2 separate regions of the Homo sapiens genome follow, and region 2 is linked to region 1. The links are contacts of gene promoters, found by promoter capture Hi-C in blood cells and fetal thymus (Javierre and others, 2016). All regions are on one chromosome and are shown on one strand. Each heading gives the region's core, a stretch centred on a gene start or on the middle of the fragment in contact. The rest is flanking DNA. Distances are from core to core; before and after follow the strand shown.

Evidence for each region. Contacts are between HindIII fragments. The CHiCAGO score rates a contact against its expected background, and 5 or more counts as called.
Region 2: a contact is called between a fragment that was not itself captured here and the fragment with the promoter of CCKAR in region 1, in 1 of 17 cell types (endothelial precursors). The highest score is 5.8, in endothelial precursors.

Annotation. Positions count from the first base shown.
Region 1 is chr4:26,487,550-26,491,749 of GRCh38, forward strand. CCKAR (cholecystokinin A receptor) reads right to left here and starts at 2,935. Exons shown (of 5, transcript NM_000730.3): 1 at 2,607-2,935; 2 at 1,684-1,935. The coding sequence starts at 2,718. The HindIII fragment of the contact is 9,380 bases long and covers 1-4,200 here.
Region 2 is chr4:26,721,903-26,725,864 of GRCh38, forward strand. All of the region lies in intron 15 of TBC1D19 (TBC1 domain family member 19), which reads left to right. Among named protein-coding and RNA genes, the nearest start is that of STIM2-AS1, 140 kb to the right of the region's middle. The HindIII fragment of the contact is 787 bases long and covers 1,005-1,791 here.

The DNA.
Region 1 (4,200 bases), core at 1,685-4,184:
ATTGAGGAGACTGCAAAATTAAGAGAAGAGCCTAAATTATTGGAATTAAAAATCCAACAAAATTATTATGGTATTGCAAATACTTTCAGAATGATGTTGCTTTTCTTTTGCCCAATAAAATATTTTTTATGCAGTTGAAATTTACATAACATAAAATTAACCTCATTTCAAACTGAACAACTCTGTGGCACTCACAATGTTTTGCCACCATGAAAACACTCATTTAAAATCTCGGTTCACATTCTCTGGTTAAGGTTCCCAAATAGTATTACCATAAGATATATATGGATGGGCCTCGGATGTCTACAGTGCTAGTTATTATTATTGCTTCATTATTTAACAACGATCTTTTTCCTTTGTAAGTTTTGTCTTTTTTTTTTTTTTCAGAGGACTTGGACATGGATTGACACATTCTTGGTTTTTGGTGGCACGAGGGTCAGTAATTCACCATCATTTTGTCAGTGTGGAATCCCACTTCCTCAACTGGGAAAAATGAGGACTTATAAGGCTTTCTGGTCATTGAAGACTGCCCTAGCCTAACTCAGTTCTGCATATTCTGCAAGGCTTGGGTCAGAACAAAAAATAACTCCCTTCTTATTTCCCATCTCTGCCCTTCTCCCAACTAATTCTCAGAAAGGGCAAGGGACTAGGCAATCTGGCACCCAGAGGGGACCAAGAAATGTGTTTTTTTGTTCAACTTTAAGAGAACCACAGCAGTTGGCAAACTGAGGTATCATGCTCACCATTGTGTGGCTACAAATCTGGACTCAAATCTCAGCTCTGTTGCTTACCATCTGTGTGGTTCTAGGCACATTATGGACCTCTCTGTGCCTCTGTTTCCTCCTTAGGGAGACAAGGAAGAATCATTGCATTTACTTCATAGAGTGGTTGGGAGATAAGGTAAGATCATGGAAGGCAAAGCACTTAGTACCACATGGGGTGCATAAAAGCGCTAAAAAAATTTAGCTCTTATGATTTTCATTATCATCATTTTTGTTTGGCATAGGCAAAGAGCTATATATCTCAGCCAATCAGGGTCAGCTTAGCGACCCCATAGCCCCCAGGAGCAAATTCAACTCCTCATCTAGGGGCAGAGACCTCTCTCTCTCTCTCTTTCTGCCAGAGATGGCCCCAGCTTTGGGGAGAACAGGCTGGGAAGTGAATCCTGAGAAGAGAATCTGAAACTGCGATAGAACTGGTTTTCAAATAGCCCCTGTTCCCTAAGAAAACAAAAGAAACAACTGCAAAGAACCCTCCTCCATCATCCTCACCCTCCCTAGAAGCCAGGACTCAAGTTGTGTATAGATCAGGACACAGTCAACAGCTTCCAGAAAGGGATAGAGCAGCTTAAAGTCACTTCTGACTTCAAACAGAAGCAAGCAAGTCCCTCTTCCCTTCAAATAGAAGCAAGCAAAATCAACTGCCCCTGTGTTTTCCTATCAATTTATTTCACTCTTAGAAACTGACCTCCAACATGGATGATGGGGACCGACTTGTGGGGAACGTATAAGGATGACTGTCAAGCCAGCACCAATGTCCGTGCACACAGCCATGCACAGCCTGATGTTCTGTGATTCAGCCCTCAGCAGGGCTCCTTTGCTGTGATTGTCAGAGGTTTGGGAAGGTCTGGGGCTGAGTGGGGTCTGGGGCAAGCTCCAGAAAGAGTCACCAGCAGCAACTTACCCATGAAGTAGGTGGTGGTCTTGCAAACGGCGCTCCCGAAGATGAAATCCTTGAGCAGATTGGGGATGAGGTTGAACGGCATGCAGAAGAGACAGAGCATGAGGTCGCTGACAGCCAGGGAGAGGAGGAAGATGTTGGTGACCGTCCGCATCCGCTTGTTCCGAATCAGCACGGTGATGACCAGCGTGTTTCCCAGCACGCTGAGCAGGAATATCAAGGAGTACAAGAGAATCTGCACCGCTGGCTGCCACTCTGCAGAGAGAAACAGGAGCAAGACGGAGGGATGGAGGTGATGACAGCAGAATGCTAAAACCGAAGCCAAGGGTGAATTCCTGCCGATTTTCCCCCCACCGGGGTGTACATCACTGGACCCACGATTCCTGTCCTGGCAACATTTTGCGGAAACAAATTGAGGAAAGCAGAGACTGAATTATTTTCTTTTTAGAAGGTTGGTTTGTTAAAGGATCACTCAGGGAACCACTTTTTCTTAAGAACAAAGCTCCTCAAGTGAACAGTGATCACTTTCTTTCCTGGCTGCTAAGCATTATTTCACTTTAATCACTTCATGCTGGGTTTCCCCCCAAGAAAAGAAAACAGCTGCATGGTGACAACACCTTTTCTGCTGTGCTTGTAAGTTCAGGCTTTGACACTTGTAGTCCCTCTTGCTTCACTCAGCTTTTCCTCCCCTGCTTTTGTTCCCCCAAGTCCTATTCATGAATGCCCAACTCCCCCATGGGGGACAATAAGAATATTTGACTCTATTCTGCTTTTTAATCTCTTCTCCAAACTTCTGAACATATGACTTTATCTAGCCTTGTCTCACAATGACTTGGTTATATATATTTTTTATCAGCCTTGCCTTTGCTGATTTCTCCCACAACTCAATAGTTTCCTGAATTAAAATAACAGCTTCCGACACTTACCTTTGGAAGGACGGGGCTGATCCAAGCAGAAAAGCGTCTCATTTTCGAGCCCGAGTTCACAGGGAGGAGTGATGTTGCTTCCATTCACAAGAAGGCTGTCAACCACATCCATCCTTGCCTGCTGCTTTCCACCAAGTGCTGGAGAGCTGGTGAATTGCTCACTCCCGGCTCATTCCTCTAATGACCGAAGCGTCTCGCAGATGCAACCTGCCGTGGAGGAGCAGGGAGGGAGTGATTTCCAGGTGTGGGCTTTTTCAGCCATTCCTAAAGGCGACTTGAGTTCACCTCACTCACTCCAGCATTTGTACTCCTGTTGTGGAAAAGGCAGTGAGCACAAGCCAAGCCCGCTCCACCTTCACCCCGCCCCACCTCCCCCGGCCCTTTCCTGGGCCAGTCTTAGGGCCCTGAGTACAGACAGCCTGGCTACCCGTTAACCATTCTCAGCGTGTGGCTGCTTTTTACACACATGTGTACATATGCACGGACACACACACACACACAGAGGCTTCCCCAGTACTCCTCTATATAGGAACCCGTCACCATCCCAGACATATGCAGAAGAAAGCCCAAACCGGCTGTGTGAGACAGGAACAATTAACACGGTAACAGATCCGATAATGCAGACCATCAGGCCTAAAGAACACGGAGGGACTGTGTTCTACCTCCTTATAGAAAAGCAATTAGTGCCTTTTTAGCTTTGGAACCATGCCCGGTGGTGTGTGTGTGGACAGAACTGCTGGCTGGTTGTTAAGTTGCTACTAAACACAGTGTTGTTTCTCGTGGTCTCTGCCCTTGTTAACTAGGATTGAGGCACTTTTGAACATAGGTACCTGGGTCCTTATTACAAAAGACGTTAGTGAGATTTCCTCTTCATTCATGAAGCCTTGCATTCAGCACATCTTCATTGAGAGTCAATCATTTGCCAGGCACTTTTCTAGCATGTCAGCAAATAATGAGCAGAATTATTTCAGGTAGTAAGTACTACAAAGGGAGTAAAGCAGGGAGATGTGATGTATACAAACAGATTAGGGGCTGATTTTTTGGGGGGCGGGGACAGGGTCTTGCTCTGTTCCCCAGGCTGCAGTGGAGTGGCGCGATCATGGCTCACTGCAGCCTTGCTCCCTGGCTCAAGCAATCCTCCTACCTTAGCCTCCTGAGTAGCTGGGACTACAGGCACACACCACTAAGCCCAGCTGATTTTTTTAGTTTTAGAAGAGAGGAGGTCTCGCTATGTTGCCCAGGCTGGTCTCAAGCTCCTGAGCTCAAGCAATCCTCCTGCCTTGGCCTCCCAGTGTTGGCATTACAGGCGTGAGCCACTGCACCTGGCCTGGGGCTGCTGATTTAGAAGGGGTAGTCAGGAGAGGTCTCTTAAGGAGGGGACTGTGATCTGAGACTGAACCACAAGAAGGACAAAGTCTTGTGAAGATCCCAAGACAGCTTCTCCCAGGCAAAAGGAGGAGCACTTTTAGCAGAGGTAACAGCAAGTGCAAAGGCCCTGAGGTGGGAATGAGTGTGGCCCCATTGAGGTACAAATAGATAGAAGTAGGAGTGAGTGAGAGGCAAACAGCAGGACGTGAGATCAGAGAGGGGGGCC
Region 2 (3,962 bases), core at 148-2,647, 230 kb after region 1:
GCTGTCATCAAGCTCAGTTTAGGCATGATCCTCTTTCAGGAAGCTTTCCCTGAATCCCCAGGTTAGGCTAAGGGCCCTTCCTCTAGACTCCCATAGTACCTGGTCTAAACTCTTTGGTATCTCTAGCTATGTTATCTTGATATTGTTTGTTTATACTTTATCTCCTCCTCTTAATTGCAAGCTTCTTGTAGTTCAGAGCCATATCATTCATTTTTGTTGCCTCAGTATCTAGCATGTAATAGGACTGTAATGAGTATTTATTTGAACTCAATTAGAGGTTTGTTAATTTTAACTTTATATATTACCATTGTTACATCTATTATCCCAGAAACTTACTTTTATAGTAACTTTTTATATTTTATCTAAGAAGCAAGAAACAATAACAAAATACCTCTGAATAGCCAAAAGAGTTGTCCATGGACTCAAGTTCTTCTCTCCATCCATAGAAGTGTTTTTTCAACTTAGTTTAGAATATATTAGCTTTTACTTAACACACATGTCTAACAAATTGGTTAACTCTTTTTTATGCCTCCTACAAAAATAGAAGCATGGAAAAGGCTGATATAGATATGAAAAAATAGCAACAACAGTGAGAAGTAAAAAGGAGACTTCACAAAGGAAAATACAGGAGCTATAAAACAGCGTATTAGACCACTCCAGCAAATCAGTCTGGGGCCATTTTATGTAAAAGCTAGTAACACTGTGCCCTTTAAGAAGGTATCACTAAGTTGCAGCATATTATAATTTAGCATCTTTATAATGAGCTCAAGACACCAAAAAAAATCTCGCTATAGTAATAATTGTAACAGTATAGTTATAGCAGCAGCAGCAAACATTTTCCAAGCAGTACTATATCCCAGGCAATGTGTTAAGTATATGACATATATTAATTCATTTAGTCCTTACAAGAACCTATGAGGAAGGTACTAATATTATCCCTATTTACAGATAAAGAAACTGAGGCATAGAGTGTTAACCTGCCCAACAGGTGAGTGACAAAGCCAAGCTTTGAATCCAAGCTGTCTGGCTTCAGAAGCAACATTCTTATCAGGATGCCCTACTGCCTCAGAAGATGTTGCTGAGCTCATTATAGTGAATTTGGGAAGAAAGGAAAGTAGTTAATGTAATAAAAAGGTAGAGGATGTATGTGATAGGTTCTAGAAAGATTTTCATCCAGAATGAAAACTGTTTAATCCTTAATGAGATAAGCCCACAGCTGTTCATAAATTTAGTTCTACAGAATCATTTCTCCTCTCAGGTTGTTTTAGAACTTGCCAGAATCAAGGAGGACACTTTTCTCTGGGCAATGATTCTGAAGTTTCAGAACAAGAAGAGACAAAGACCAGTCAATCTACTCTCCCCCGCTTTTTTTTTTAACTCAAGGCAATACTTAGCAGCATTTTTATATTACCCACCCTGTTTTGAACCTCTGCCAAAGATATTATTACTTTGAAATCTTGACACCTCTGTCACTACTACCACCAAAACTGTTGTGGCTTTCTTGGTCTCAGGGGACCACACATAGAGGTTAGCCTGCAGCTCACTGACACACTCTCATTCCCTGACCAGGCCAGTGCTTACAGGGTGGCAGAGGTTTTCTCACCACTACCCCCAACATGCCTGTGATTACCTTCCCTGGGAGGGAAATGACAGGCTATGGTGGCATCAGACATTTTGTTCTCTCACTTCATTTGAAGAATCACCAATGGACAGATTTCCTCTAGTAGATTCCCCAAACAGCTAGTGAGCAAAATTTCTGAACTAAGGGAGACTTCTCAGAAGAATTTTATAAGCTTTTTATATTTTTTGTTGTTATTCAACACATATAAATTGTCTTTATTCATTTGATAAATATTTATTTAGCCTAGGTCACTGTTGTAGGAGGGTGATCCACAGTAAATGATACAAACAAAGTACCTGCTGCCAAGGAGCTTACCTTCTAGTAAGGGGAACATAAAATCAGTCAATCATCAGTCAATCAACAAAGGATGAATGAATGAAAGTAATTTCAAAGAATGATGAACTTAACAATGAAAGGGAGCAGAAATTGTAGGAAGTTGGGATGGGCATAGCCATTTTAGATCAAGTAGTCAGGAAAGGTGCCTCTGAGGAGGTGGAATATGAACAGAGACAGACTATATGGAGTATGCTATGCAATGAAATGGGAGAACGTTCCAGAAGAGAGTACACAGCATGTCTGAAGGCAGGAATAAGCTTGATAGTCTGAAGCTCACCAAGATGGCCAGTGTGACTGGCAATAGTGAGCAAAGCATTGACTGATACAAGGTGAGTTAGAAAAGGTAGATGGAGCTAGGTCAGTTAGGGAGATAGTTGACTTAAAGTCTTGTCTAGTAAGTCCAATGTCTGTGCTTCCTCAGGGATTTTTTATTATTTTTTTTCCTGTGAATGGGTTATACTTTTTTATTTCTTCACATGCCTAGTAATTGTTTTATTGTTGAAAATGGAATAATTTGAATATTATACTGTGGTATCACTGGAAATGGGAGTCTTTCTGTCCCCCTCCCCAAGAATTCATTGTTGTTGCTTGTTGTGGGTTCTAGGTGTTGTTTAGTGACTTTTCTAAATATTTTTATAAAGATATTTTATACAGATATTTTTATAAAGATATTTTTCATCTTATATGCTCACTGAAGTCTTTATTTTAGTAGAGTAACAGTCAGCTAGTGATTTGACAGAGATTTTCTTAAATATCTAGAACCAAAAATAAAAACCCCTCTTTCAGTCTTTGCAGATTGGCTGGGTATTGGGGCACTCCTTCAAGGCTTAGCCAGGCTGTTTACAACTGTATGTTAGCCTTCACTTCCTGCTTGCACAGAGCCTCAAAGGCAGTCAGAAGTGGGAGCCTAAGGTCTTCTTGGGTAAGTTTTAGATTCCCCTGTATACACAGATGCTTTCCAAAGCCCTCATGCCCCAAGTAGCTCCTACCCCAGCCTCTTTCTTCCCAGGCTTTTCAATCTGTATACCACCACTCCCATCTTTTATTCCTTCTCCTAGGTGGCTGCAGCTAGTATATATTTTCCTTTAAATGCTTTTGACAAATGCCTCTTGGCAGGCCATGTCAGTCCTGAAAAAGCCCAGAGATGAGGCAAATAAAATGAAGGCAATCTCCTGAGCCAGTCCCGCAGTTAGCTACTATATAGGTCAAAACACACAACCACAATATTTTGATACAAGATCCCCCTGGTACCAGCAATCTGCATCAGGAATGTGAGCCATGGTCTTCATGGCTGCTGCCAAGTTGGGGAGTAGGGTATGGTAGGTGGGCAAATTAAAATGCCATATGCTCTCTTACTAAAATTCTTTCTTCATTAAATATTCCCCTGGTGGTTGTAAGTTTTTATTAAATTCCAGAGTTCAAAAAAGTTGATTCTAACAGTTCCTGCCAGCTTAACCATTGCTTTAATGGAGGAATGGAGTTTGGGAGTTTCCTACTCCACTCTTCTCAGTGACATCTCTCCTCCAATTCCTGACTAATGCTTTTTCTTTTTTTCTTTTTTTCTCCCCCCAAGACAAAGTCTTGCTCTGTCGTCCAGGCTGGAATGCAGTGGGCCGATAATGAACTACTGCAGCCTCGACCTCCTGGGCTTAAGTGATCCTCCCACCTCAGCCTCCCAAGTAGCTGGAACTACAGGTGCACACCACCATGCTGGGCTGATTTTTTTGTATTTTTCATATAGACAGGATTTTACCATGTTGCCAGGCTAGTCTTGAACACCTGGTCTCAAGCAATCCGCCCACCTCAGCCTCCTAAATTTCTGGGATTACAAGCATGAACCACCATGCCCAACCCTGATTAATACTTCTAAACGATCATCCTGTCTACTGTGTAGAATAAAAGTGTCACTAGAATGTAAGCTCCAAGAGAACAAGGACCTTAATAGTTTTGGTGATCAACATATCTAGCACCTAGAATCATGCATGGCATAAAGTCTGTGCTCAGT